Linked DNA regions of Homo sapiens: region 2 is linked to region 1. Evidence: promoter capture Hi-C in 16 types of primary human blood cells and fetal thymus (Javierre and others, 2016). All regions are on one chromosome and are shown on one strand. Each heading gives the region's core, a stretch centred on a gene start or on the middle of the fragment in contact. The rest is flanking DNA. Distances are from core to core; before and after follow the strand shown. Region 1 holds the start of BIRC6 (baculoviral IAP repeat containing 6). Region 2 overlaps BIRC6 (baculoviral IAP repeat containing 6).

Region 1 (6,634 bases), core at 1,596-4,095:
ACCCCATTTCTACTAAAAATACAAAAAATTAGCCGGGCGTAGTGGCTGGTGCCTATAATCCCAGCTACTCGGGAGGCTGAGGCAGGAGAATAGCGTGAACCCGGGAGGCGGAGCCTGCAGTGATCCGCGATCGCGCCACTGCACTCCAGCCTGGGCGACTGAGCGGGACTTCGTCTCAAAAAAAAAAGGAAAGAAAAGTATATTCTCTGAAACTGTGTTACAGTCCCAGGCTTCTTTTGAAAGGTACCTTCTGGGCTGGATGTTCTTTCTGGCTCTCTGTGAAGCCTCTGTATTCTCTCTATTGGATCTTGCTTCTCCCATGGGAAATTCTGTCACCTGAAACCCTTCTTCTCTGAAACCAGAAATCCCTACTGATTATAACCTTTGCCAACTTTGTCCACCACTGCCAGATCCTTTCCCTTCTCACTCCAGCCCCACAGTCACTTGCACTTTAGGCTCCCTACCCTCCACTGGGGGCTCTGAAGGGACTGAGAGGACCCTCCAAATCAATCACTTGAGGCTGAAAAGAGAGAAAAAAATGAGACTGTTTTGAAACAGGGCAAATAAAAAAAAAAGTAAAAAGAATTTTCCACAAATATTGGTAAAAAGCTTTAGCCCTTACTAAGTAGGTAAACTCAACTTGTCCCATTTTCTTTTTTTTTTTTTTTTCTGAGGCAGATTGTCGCTCTGTCGCCCAGGCTGGAGTGCAGTGGCACGATCTCTGCTCACTGCAACCTCCGCCTTCAGGGTTCAAGTGATTCTCCTGCCTCTGCCTCCCTAGTAGCTGGGACTACAGGTGCCCGCCACCAGGCCCGGCTCATTTTTTTCTATTTTTAGTAGAGATGGGCTTTCACTATGTTGGCCAGGCTAGTCAAAGTGCTAGGATTACAGGTATGAGTCACCGCACCCGGCCAAGTATTCCTATTTTTATGGCAATATAGTTATTTGCATAATTTCTATAAAAATGTGTTCTCCTGTAACAAGACATAATTGGAGGCACTGGTTGTATTAACCAGGTTTTGACTGGAATGTCATATTTTCAAACATGACCAGATGGCATTAAGGAGCTATGGTTGACTTTATGGAGCCAATAAAGTCTTCGTTTGAAAAACTGGCCTGATTGTTCCCAGACTTACAGGTGAGTGGCCTGAGTGGCCGGGCGCGGGGGCTCACACCTGTAATCCCAGCACTTTGGGAGGCCGAGGCAGGTGGATCACGAGATCAGGAGTTCAATACCAACCTGGCCAAGATGGTGAAACCCCATCTCTACTAAAAATACAAAAAAAAAAAAAAAAAAAAATTAGCCAGGCGTGGTGGCAGGTGCCTGTAATCCCAGCTATTCAGGAGGCTGAGGCCGAGAATTGCTTGAATCCAAGAGGCAGAAGTTGTAGTGAGCTGAGATCACGCCACTGCACTCCAGCCTGGGCGACGGAGTGAGACTCCGTCTCAATAAACAAACAAAAACAAACAAAAAAGCCAAAAAAAAAAAAAAAAAAGAACCACAGATGAGTAAGGAATGTCACTCTCTGGCAGGCCCAGGAACTTCAGTGTATTTTAGGGACCCCCAAGAAGAGAGGAATACAGTCAAATCTCTAAGTGTTTCAGATGTAGCCTGATGGCTAATAGTTTAAGATGTAGTTCAGGTAATCCATGAAGATTTCCTGAAGGAAGTTCGCATGAATGTGAGAGGGCAATTAACTTTTATAATTTTTATTGAGCACGTAGTATATACTTGTCAGATGCTCTTCTACACATTTTACAAATGATTCTTAATCCTCACAACAGATCTTTGATTAGGTTTTTAAGGAAAACTAGTTCTTTCCAAAATAACCTAATGATCACAAAACATATAGAACATACAACTCTGCATCTTGACTATGGTGCGTAGGTCTACATGTGATAAAATGACATTGAACTATACACACATCATACAACTATCAAATCCCTCCTTTTGAGATTGTACTAGAATTATGTAATATGCAACCATTGGGGGAAACTGGGTAAAGAGTAAATTGGATCTCTCTGTACTATCTTTGAGTAGTGTTTAGGTATTTTATAAAAATAATGTCCTACAGTTTGGGTTTGTCAAATGGTTTTCTCATAGTTAGATAGGGGTTATGGCTTTTGGAGAGAAAGACCACAGAGGTCTGTAGTATATTTTCAACTGTAATCTATTTCAAAATAAAAAGTTTTAAAAAAATTCTCCAAGGGGGGATGATTAGTAAATTGATTAGTCCTTTCTAGACCTCCAACACACCCCACCACACACTCACACAGACCCACACTCCTATTAATTCCGGTAACTCGGGTTGTTTGGAATGTGGATAGAGAAACTAAGCTTAACTATGCGCTTCCAGCACCTCGTATCTGGTACTTCTGTTCAACAGAAAGCCTTGGGAATGGGGAGGGCAGGCGTGGTAAAAGGTACAGGTTTGGGAAGGTCGCTCGGTTCCTTCCAATCCAAACGAGAGGCTTCTGATTGTTTATTCTCACACCAGAGCCGTGACCGAGACCCAGAGGTCCGCTTCCGGCCACGGCCGAACAGCTGCACCGTGCGTACCGGGAACGGTCAAGGCGCAGCTGGAACCGCTGCAAAAGGCCTCCGGGCGTACCGGACAGGTCGCAAGGGCGGGGGTCCCCACCTAGCGGAAATGCACGGAGGCCAACCCCTCCCCCTGCCCCCGCGAGGAGCGGGGCGGACTCGGCAGCCGCCACTCCCCAGGCTCACAGGAAGAAACTGGGACGCTGCGGACGCGGAACTGGCCAGACCCGCGGCGCGTGGCACGCGCGAGCCCTCCCGCGCATGCTCCACCCGCCGGCCTCCAGCCCGCGCCCCGGGCCCCGCCTCCCTCCCTGCTTCTCCCCCTCTCCCGTCAGCCTCCCTCCGAGTTTGGCCCCTCCGGCCGGGCGATCGACGTTCCGCGTGCGTGCGGGCGCCTGACTTCACTTCCGGCTAACGCGCTCGGCTTGCCCCCTGGCCCCGGATGGTGACTGGTGGTGGTGCTGCACCTCCCGGGACTGTCACTGAGCCGCTTCCCAGTGTGATTGTGCTGAGCGCAGGCCGGAAGATGGCGGCTGCGGCTGCGGCGGCCTCGGGCCCCGGCTGCTCCTCGGCGGCGGGGGCGGGGGCGGCCGGGGTCTCAGAGTGGCTGGTGCTGCGGGACGGCTGCATGCACTGCGACGCCGACGGGCTGCACAGCCTGTCCTACCACCCTGCGCTCAACGCCATCCTGGCCGTCACTAGCCGCGGGACCATCAAAGTCATCGACGGCACCTCGGGGGCCACACTGCAGGCCTCCGCGCTCAGTGGTGAGTCTTCCGCACGCCGGGCGGGCGCGAAGCCGGGGAAAGAAGCCGTCCAGCCCCGGGGCTCGGCCTCGCGACTCGGGGAAGCGAGATGGCGAGAGGGCAGGGCTGGGGGTTCGGGCCCAGCCGTGAAGGGAGGCCCGGAAGCTGATGGAGGGGGACCTTAGGACTTGGCTTTTTCAGCGGCTGCAGTTGGGAGGAAAGACCGGCGAGTCAGGGAGTGGTGGGAGGGGAGTTGCCTTTCGGGCCTGGAGCGTCCGGTCTGGCTTGGTCCTCCGCGAGAGGTGAGGAGACCTTGGAGCTTGGCACCGGAGGAAGCGAGGCCCGGGTAGGCCCTGGAGAGGCTGTCGGTCCTGCGTCCGGTTAGATGAGAGCGAAAGGCTGGAAGGGTTGACCCCGGGCGGAGAGGCTGGTGGCCGGAGGCGAGGGGCGGGGAGCGTCTGAGCCGGCAACCAAGCCCTCCCTTGTGGGAGAGGAGCCGGCAGTCTGCTGTTCTCAGGTCCCGCAGTGCGGGGGACAGACCGCGGGCTGTGCGCCCAGCGTGGGGGTGGGGGTGGGGTGGGGGTGGGGTGGGTCGTGGTGGGGGTGGGGAGGGAAGTAGGCGGGCCAGCTGCCTGAACTGCTTGGTCGACGACTGTAGGACTCTGCGGACGCCGAAGACGACTAGACCTGGTCCCCTTGCTCGGGGCTTCCAACTTCTACGCCCCAGTGACGAGAAAGTCAGGACCTGTGGTGTATGAAATAGATTCCTTTGGGTTTGTAACTTCAGGCTGTCTCTACTTGTTTTCCCACAGCGAGCCGAAAATTAGGATTTGAAGGTGTGTCTGAGTCTCACCATTGGAGGAGAGCACTTCTGGGTGGCGTAAACCTTGGTCCAGGGACGGGACTTTCAGATGCGTGAGGTGTATGCTCAGTGGACGGACTGGAGTGGTTTTGGAATGGCCCTGGCTGAGTTAGATTTGGCGGAGATGACATTTCATTTGTGGTTAAATGATGGGTGGCTTAATTTGGATGTTGTAGGTTTAGATTGAAAAGTTAGTGTATGAGTGAATCGGACTCCTGCATAGAGATGTAATGTATACAACTGTCTGCGTTTAGCCAAGTGGAAGTAGTTATGTGGTCAACCAATTCACTTGTATTTTAACGTAGACGAACAAGGAAAAGTTTACTATGTGAGTAATAAGGCATTTGTAAGAGTAAATGGCAATTTAGGGATGCAAACGTGAAATTAGACATGTTAATTATTGTTGATGTGAGAGTTGTGAAAGAATTGGATTATGTATAGTTTCAGGATATAAACTTGGAACATATCTAAGAGAAAGTTTTGGGAGGTAGGTTTGTAATTTTTTCTTTTCTTGGCTTAGGTAAATGATGGGGTGGCCCAGATGTAGCAGTGAACAGTTACTGCAACTTGGACATAATGGCTTCTCACTGTGTGTAAGAGGGAGATGCTCATTGGTAATTGGATGTCTTTCTTTTTAAAAGTCATTTAAAAGTATTTCAAGTATGAAAAGGTATGAAGAGTAATTACAGTGAACACCATGCATCCCCAACTCAGGTTAAGAAATAAAACTTTACAAATAGGATTAAAATCTCAGCTGAATCTCTCCTGGACTGCATTTCTCCAATCCTCCCTCTTCATAAACGTTATCTTTAATTTGATTTTATCCTTTTCATATATGTCTACACTTTCTAGTATATGTTTCTATCTTGAGGATGTAGTATTTTTGTGATTTTTAACTTGGAATAAGTGGTATATGTACTAGGATTTCTAAAGAAAGTCATTAACAAAAGTATTCAAGTGTTTTGGATAGAAAGAGGAATTTTATGGTGTGCTTTTTATGTCTGGAGGCCATGTTTGAGAATAATAATGTGTGTCAGGATTTGTTGGTTGGGGAAATTGGACATATATTTATGTGCCTGTACATGGAAGGAAAGACAATATTCACTTTAGTGGTAGATTACTAAAGAGGAGGGTTTTAGATGTATAACATGAAGGTGTAGGTAGATAAGTAAAATGTAGCATTGATTTGGGATAACAGGTTTTGTTGGGGCATCTGTTGATTAGAAGAGTTCGGGATTGGATACAATTGCAGGTCCCCATGCATGAAGATTGAGTATGTGAATTAAAATATGTAGAAGGGTTTATAGTGAACGGAATGAAGGATTACAGAAAAAATTTGGAAGTTAACAATGGATGCATTCTGAAACATTTTCATATATGAGAAGTGAAATTTATTATTATTTGTAAAATTTATTCGTATTTGTAGAGATGGGGTTTTGCTGTGTTGCCCAGGCTGGTCTTGAACTTCCGGCCTCAAATGATCCTCCCACCTCAGCCTCCCAAAGTGCTGGTATTACAGGCATGAGCTGTCCCACCTGGCCAGAAGTTTGTTATTAATAATAATTATCAGAGGTTGTATAGGGTCCTATTTGCCCCAGTTCAGATGATTGAGGAGGGAATGCTGCATTTTATGTTTTACTTAGAATCTGCAGGTATTTAGTAAGTTTGCTTTTAATGATTAATAGAGGGTGACAGCCCTATAAATAGAGTAGAGAGAAGATGCCAGTAGCGATCATGGTCCTAACATAATCCCTCTTTCCCGTTTATGGGCAATGGGCCACTTTCTTTTCTACCACAGAGGAAAGACATCTGTGTCTGAGGGGATAAAGACTAGGTGATACAGTAATAGGTCTTATGGACGCCTGGGGTTCAGTTTATAGGGTTATGGGTTGCCTGTAGATTTGCAGTTGAAGGATGGGAACAGGACTTGTATGTATATGTATTGAGTGGCAAAGACAGTGAATTTTTAACTATGACTACTAGTATATGTCTTTATATTATCTGTATCTGATATAAAATGTTTATAAATACAGTTTAACTGGATTAAGAGCTATCAGTATATACACAGGCTGGGTAAGTATTTGCTCCCTGTCAGTATTTAAGAGTGAAGATTTTTGAAGCTCTGAGCTGCGTGATCTGGCTTTTACTAGTCTCTCTAGTCTTGTCTCCTTATTTATAAGTTTTGTGAAATGGTCCATTTAATTCTTTTTCCTAACTACAGTAGTTTTGTTCTTTCTTGGAATGCACCAATTCGCTCCAGTCATTTAGCTAAGTCTTAGTCATTTTCAAGACCTAGAGCGTATCTTAACTTCCTGATCCCTTTAGCCAGAAATGACTGAAGCCCTAAGCACATATGGTCCTATTAGTGTCCATTTTAGTAATCTGGCAGGTTAGTATTTTGTGGTATTTTTTCAACCGTCTTGAACTATTTAAGTTTAAATTCCATTTTATTTAGCTTTTTGTAAATATATGAGGTCTGTCTCA
Region 2 (6,634 bases), core at 2,533-5,032, 46 kb after region 1:
GGGACTACAGGTGTGCGCCACAATGCCTAGCTAATATATGTATTTTTAGTAGAGATGGGGTTTCCCCATGTTGGCCAGGCTGGTCTGGAACTCCTGACCTCAAGTGATGCACCCATCTCAGCCTCCCAAAGTGGTGGGATTACAGGCGTGAGCCACCACGCCCAGCCTATTTTATTTTTTAGATACGGGGTCTTGCTATATTGTCCAGGCTGAAGTGCAATGGCTATACACAGGTGTGATCATAGCTTACTGCAGCCTCATATTCTTGGGCTTAAGCAGTCCTCCTGCCTCAGCCTCCTGACTAACTGGGACTATATGCTTTACCATCACGCCTGGCTCATGGGTTCTTGTTTTGGTAGCAGGATCCTGACATTTCTAATGCCTTATAATTATAGCTAATAGAAATAAAAATAAGGAATAACCAGAAAGAAATATAAAGGAATCATAAAGTTGAGCAGATAGGTGCTAAGTTGATCCTGCTTACAATATTTGAGATAATTCTTAAAGTCATTATACCAGTCTTGATATGAGGTCCTAGTATTTTATTTTTATATTTTAATTTAAATTTTTAAATTTTTTATTTTTTAGAGACAGGGTCTTGCTCTGTTGCTCAGGCTGGAGTGCAGTGGCACGATCGTAGCTCACTGCAGCCTTGAACACCCAGGCTCGAGGGATCTTCCTACCTGAGTCTCCCGAGTAGCTGGGAATACAGGCACATGCTACCACACCCAGCTAATTATTTTTATTTTTATTTTTTGTAGCAATGAGGTCTCACTATGTTGCCTAGGCTGGTCTCAATCTTCTGGCCTCAAGGATCCAACCACCTTGGCCCCCCGAAGTGCTGGGATTACAGGTGTGAGCCACGGTGCCCAGCCTGTATTTTATATTTCTTAAACTTGTTATGTTTTTAATTTAACATTTCTTCTCGCTCAGTAAGCATTTATTTGAAAGAAGTAGTGTATAATTTATGAACTTTACATTCCTAAGGCTCTTAGGAAATAAATTTTATTTAAAAGTTATTTGTCTGATTTGATCCTATAGTGAATACATAAGGTATATTTCTGTGTTCTTAATATATATTATTTTATTCATACTAGAGATCTTTCTGCTTTCAGATCTTTTTTTTTTTTTTTTTTTTGAGGTGGAGTCTCACTCCGTTGCCCAGGCTGGAGTGCAGTGGCGCGATCTCGGCTCACTGCAGCCTCCGCCTCCTGGGTTCAAGCAATTCTTCTGCCTCAGCCTCCTGAGTAGCTGGGATTACGGGCGCCCACCACCATGCCCAGCTAATTTTCGTATTTTTAGTAGAGACGGGGTTTCACCGTGTTGGTCAGGCTGGCGTCGAACTCCTGACCTCATGATCCACCCGCCTCAGCCTCCCAAAGTGTTGGGATTACAGGCATGAGCCACCGCACCCGGCTGCCTTCAGATCTTTACTAAAAAACTTTTTAGTAAAATAATTTAGTAAAATATTTAGTAAAATAACTTTTTGTGTTATGAGTGGCATTTATCGAGTTTCAGCTGTATATCATTTATAGTTGTGGCCCCTGATAGATATGGAGAATTTTAAATTGAAACATAGTAGTTAATCATTCAAAGCTGTAGGAAACCAGTGTGAGGAAATAACAGGAGTTTAAACAATTTTGTAGTATGTAATATAGCATTGTATTGGTTTTTCAGTTTTTTCTGAGATTGACTTTATAATCAGTTAAAGTGAGTAACAACTGCTATTGTTGAATGTTTGGAATATTGAATGTGTGAATTTGTAAACGGTTGAACATGTTAGAGTGATCTTCATAAAACTGAATGATTTGGTTATATTAAGTCTTTAATGATGAATACTTTAAGTTCAGTTAAAAAAAGATGATGATCCTGGAGTTCTGTTTTAATGTACAAACTGAATTGCTTTATTTTTAGTAAACTTTTCCTTTCTAAATCTATGCAAAGGTCTGAACACGAAAGACATTCCCCAAACTGCCCATTTGTGAAAGGTGAGCACACACAGAATGTGCCATTGTCAGTCACTCTTGCAACAAGTCCTGCACAGTTTCCTTGTACGGATGGAACTGACAGAATATCTTGCTTTGGGTCGGGGAGCTGCCCTCATTTTCTAGCTGCTGCAACTAAACGAGGAAAGATCTGCATATGGGATGTTTCCAAACTTATGAAGGTATGTTTGAATTTTGAAGTAACAAATTAGTAATTGAAAAAAGATCAGTTGTAAACTTAGGCTTTTCATTTGTTTAGGTGCACTTAAAGTTTGAAATTAATGCCTATGATCCAGCAATTGTACAACAGCTTATTCTATCAGGAGACCCAAGCTCAGGAGTTGATTCAAGGAGACCAACTTTGGCGTGGCTGGAGGACTCCTCTAGTTGCTCAGATATACCAAAATTGGAAGGAGATAGGTATGTGAGTTTGTTTTAGTAGTATTTAATAGATGTTACATGTTTTCCTAAATTTTATATTCTCATAGTTCTAATAATTAAAGAGGAGGAAAAAAAAGTTACGCAGTTAAGAGATCAGAGAGTAAATGTTTGGTTAGAAATCTGAAATCTGTGATTCTTGAAGAAAAATCTTCATTCAGAAACACCGTAGTTTATAAAATATGCTTAACTTTCTATCACAATCTATGTCAATTGGAAATAATTGCCACATTGAACAATAGATGATGAAAAGTCAACATTGGAAAGTCTAAATAATGAAATGAAATTCTATTGTAGTTTCACCTTCTGCTAAATCTTTTCATAGAGCATTCGAACTAGATGATTTCAGTTTCCGTTTTTTCATTAGCACCTCAAATTATGGCAGTGCTAATGAATAATAATAATGGGATGACCTGAGGTGAGGCAAGAGGATCTAATTGTTTAAAACAGTGTACCAGTAGTCAGCAGTGAGTTGAGATACCATAATTATTGCTATAGAAATATTTTGGTAAAATTGCTGTTCTGGATTCTCCTTCACTCAACTTCTCTGAGAGATTCCTGATTTTTGTGGTGGGGTGGGAGAGTCAAAGTATCACCCTCTTTCACCCACTTGTTTCCTAAGAACCACTGTGGTTTTGACTGAACTGGGCTAGTAAGATTCTGTAGGTGGAGGGGAAGAAGATTGTGTAGGCAGCCATGTGAAATGGAGCTATTTAACTGTGATCAGATGTCTTGATAGACTGAGAATATCTGCCATTTCACTTCCAGGGGCTCCTTATGTTACTGACATGTGATGGGTGTTACTCTGTAGTCAGTGATTTATCATTTTACTTCACAACCCCTTTGGTGGGATGTCCTTTCATTAAGGAATAATGTAAAGTTTTATTAATGGAAATTATTTCATTAATGGAATTAGTGGAAAATTTACAATATATGTGTTACTTCTGTCTAGTTCCTCTTGGTAATAACATGTTGATTAAAGCCTTGTGGTTGTTCTATTAATATAAATCTCTGTGAAAGCTTAATGGGAAAGCAGCTTAACTGTTGTCTGAGTTTCTGACCATATTTTGCCAATAGGACTAGATATTAAGCATGCTTAATTTCTGTGATTTCTTAGAAGTTAGTGGAAAAGTAATAGAAGATAATGAAATTTATATGTCCTTCTAGGCACTTACTTTAATTTGAACTTTGTCTTGAAGTTTTGTAATTTGGGGATTAAAAATGGAATCAAAATATACTTCTAGGATTACATACACCCATACACATATAGTCACACCCTCCTAGGTAAAATCTGCATTTTAGATAAACATGTATTCTGTATTATTAGTGGAAATACTTCTCAACATTATATGGGGTAATGTGCTTGAGTTGAGGTAATCTCTACTTGCTTTTAAGAAATTCACAATCTAGGGTCGAAGGTCAATTTTCTCTGAAGAAAGTCTCAAACAAATCATACAAAAACATTAAGTTGATGTGGTAGGAGGAAGCTGAAGAGGTGAAACTTCATCCCTAACCTTAAGCCCCCTCTCTTCACTTCCCCTCCCCAAGAAGTAGGAGCAGTCCTGTTGGAATTGATAGTGAATATAATGAGCCACACTACCTCTCACTTTATGTGACACAAGATCCAATATGTTTGGTTATAAAATATACTATGTGGGTTTCATTAGCTTGAAGAATAATACATTAATTGGAAAAATCTAAGCTTATCCAAGAAGTTTAAAGTAATTAGCAATATAGTTTGCTTAGAATAGTTTTTGTAAAATTTGTTTTTATTTCTTATTTACATTGAAGGACTAAGGAATTGTTTTTGACAATTTTTTCTTAGAAGACTATATTTGTCTTCTGAATTAAGGAAGAAGATATGCTAATACATTTAATTTTAATGAATTAAGATTTCTTCTAGATGATTCACTTGTCATTTGTATATCAGGTCAAGTTGGTAAAAATTCCTTGAATGTAAATGAAATTGTTTATGGGATTGCTGTAAACCAAGGTACTGTTACAATATTAGTATGTCTGTTTTTCAGAAACACATATAATCTTAACTAAACATTTTTACTTTAACCATAATATTTATTTTGCATGTTTATTGCTTTGTAAAAGGTTTTGCAAAATGTAGAAGGCTTTAGTAAATACAGTGCCTATTATATAAATAGTGCATGCTTATTGCAGGAAAATGGGAAAATGCAGGAGTGGAAATTGATGAAATATAGAGTAGTCATAATCACACTATGGGATTATGGTAACATTTATATGTATTCTAGTTTCTTTTTAAAATGTGTGTGTGTTTTTTTTTTTTTTTTGGAGACAGAGTCTCACCCTGTCGCCCAGGTTAGAGTGCAGTGGCGCAATCTTGGCTCACAGCAACCTCTGCCTCCCAGGTTCAAATGATTTTTCTGCCTTAGCCTCCTTGAGTAGCTGGGACTACAGGTGCCCACGACCCCTCCTGGCTAATTTTTTGTATTTTTAGTAGAGAAAGGGTTTCTCCATGTTGGCCAGGCTGTTCTCGAACTCCGGACCTCAGATGATCCACCTGCCTTGGCCTCCCAGAGTGCTGGGATTACAGGCGTGAGCACCACGCCCAGCCGCATGTGATTTTTTAAAAAGTTTTATTGAAGTGTAATTTTCAAACCATACAATTCATGTAAGTGTACAATTTAGTTATTTTATTCATATAATTTTTTTTCTTTTTTTTTGAGAGAGTCTTGCTCTGTCGCCCATGCTGGAGTGCAGTGGTGCGATCCTGGTTCACTGCAATCTCTGCCTCCCAGGTTCAAGTGATTCTTGTGCCTCAGTCTCCTGAGTAGCTGGGACTGACCCGTGCCACCATGCCTGGGTAAATTTTGTATTTTTAGTAGAGACGGGTTTCACCATGTTGGCCAGGCTGGTCTCAAACTCCGGGCCTCACGTGATGTGCCTGCTTCAGCCTCCAAAAGTGCTGGGATTATAGGTGTGAGCCACTGCATCTGGCCTTAGCCATAAAATGTTTTTGTCACAAAATATTTTAAAAGAATGTGATTTTACAAATATATATATATAATTTTTTTTTTTCTCTTGAAACAAGGTCTTGCTCTGTCACCCGGGCTCACGGCTCACTGCACCCTTTACCTCCTGGGCTCAAGTCATCCTTCTACCTCAGCCTTCTAAGTAGCTGGGACTAAAGGCATGTACCACCATGCCCAGCTAATTTTTTATTTTTTTGTGGAGATGGGGTCTCACTGTGTTGCCCAGGCTGGTCTCGAATTCCTGGGCTCAAGCAGTCCTCCCTCCTTGTCCTCCCAAAGTGCTGGGATTACAGGTGTGAGTCACTGTGCCTGTTGCCTGATTATATTTTTGAGAACTTTCAGAATAAAACATTCTTTGCTAATTTAAGGCTTTTATCTGGCAACTGTCTTTGAAATATCAAGACACCTGAATTCCTTTAAAACATACTACTACTTAATTTTATTGTTCATCTTAGTACAGCAGGTTAATACTTGGTTATTTATTTTTCTTTAATGGGCAGCCATTCTATACTTAAAACCTGTTTTCTTGGTTTGGACTTCTTCATTCTTGATAATTCCCAATTATTAATATTTCTTCTTGGGATTCATTTTTACACTTACTCTGTTTCTCTGAAACCAGCCAATTAGGCTAATGAATTAGCAGCTGATTTTAAACTTTTTTTGCATTTTTTGCTTTTGTAAATTACAGCATTAAATTGGTTTATGGGCAACTGTTATCACCTGAAAAAACTAAAACAGAGAAACTTTTTCAAAAATATATAAGTGAATTTCCCCCAGCCGCCGCAAAATATTTCAAACATTGCCTTGGAGTGCAGTAATATCCTTAAGCATTTTCAGTGCGGAATACCACTTCATATTCTGTATAAAATAACATCGTAGGCCAGGTGCGGTGGCTTATGTTTGTAATCCCAGCACTTTGGGAGACCGAGGCGGGAGGATCACAAGGTCAGGAGATAGAGACAAGACTTTGTCTTGTCTTGATGACCCCCATCTTCTGAGTTGTCATAGTTTTCCTATATGTAAAGGAGTTCTTAGCCTCTCCAAAACAAAATACAGAACAAAAATAAAATTGCATGTACATGTGAGTACACAAACATACACACTTGCTTATACAACTATTATGTTTGGTTTTAGGCTGTCCTGAATTCAGTAATAGAATAGTTCTTAATGCTTTACTACTGCAAGCTGGTGCTTGATTTTATTAGT

What was found. Contacts are between HindIII fragments. The CHiCAGO score rates a contact against its expected background, and 5 or more counts as called.
Region 2: a contact is called between a fragment that was not itself captured here and the fragment with the promoter of BIRC6 in region 1, in 1 of 17 cell types (M2 macrophages). The highest score is 6.9, in M2 macrophages.

Annotation. Positions count from the first base shown.
Region 1 is chr2:32,354,178-32,360,811 of GRCh38, forward strand. It overlaps BIRC6 (baculoviral IAP repeat containing 6), which reads left to right and starts at 2,846. Exons shown (of 74, transcript NM_016252.4): 1 at 2,846-3,309. The coding sequence starts at 2,985. RefSeq lists enhancers at 2,517-3,029, 3,544-4,056 and silencers at 2,533-2,902, 3,063-3,292. The HindIII fragment of the contact is 6,861 bases long and covers 2,337-6,634 here.
Region 2 is chr2:32,399,219-32,405,852 of GRCh38, forward strand. It overlaps BIRC6 (baculoviral IAP repeat containing 6), which reads left to right. Exons shown (of 74, transcript NM_016252.4): 7 at 1,945-2,167; 8 at 2,245-2,405. Among named protein-coding and RNA genes, the nearest start is that of BIRC6, 46 kb to the left of the region's middle. The HindIII fragment of the contact is 682 bases long and covers 3,442-4,123 here.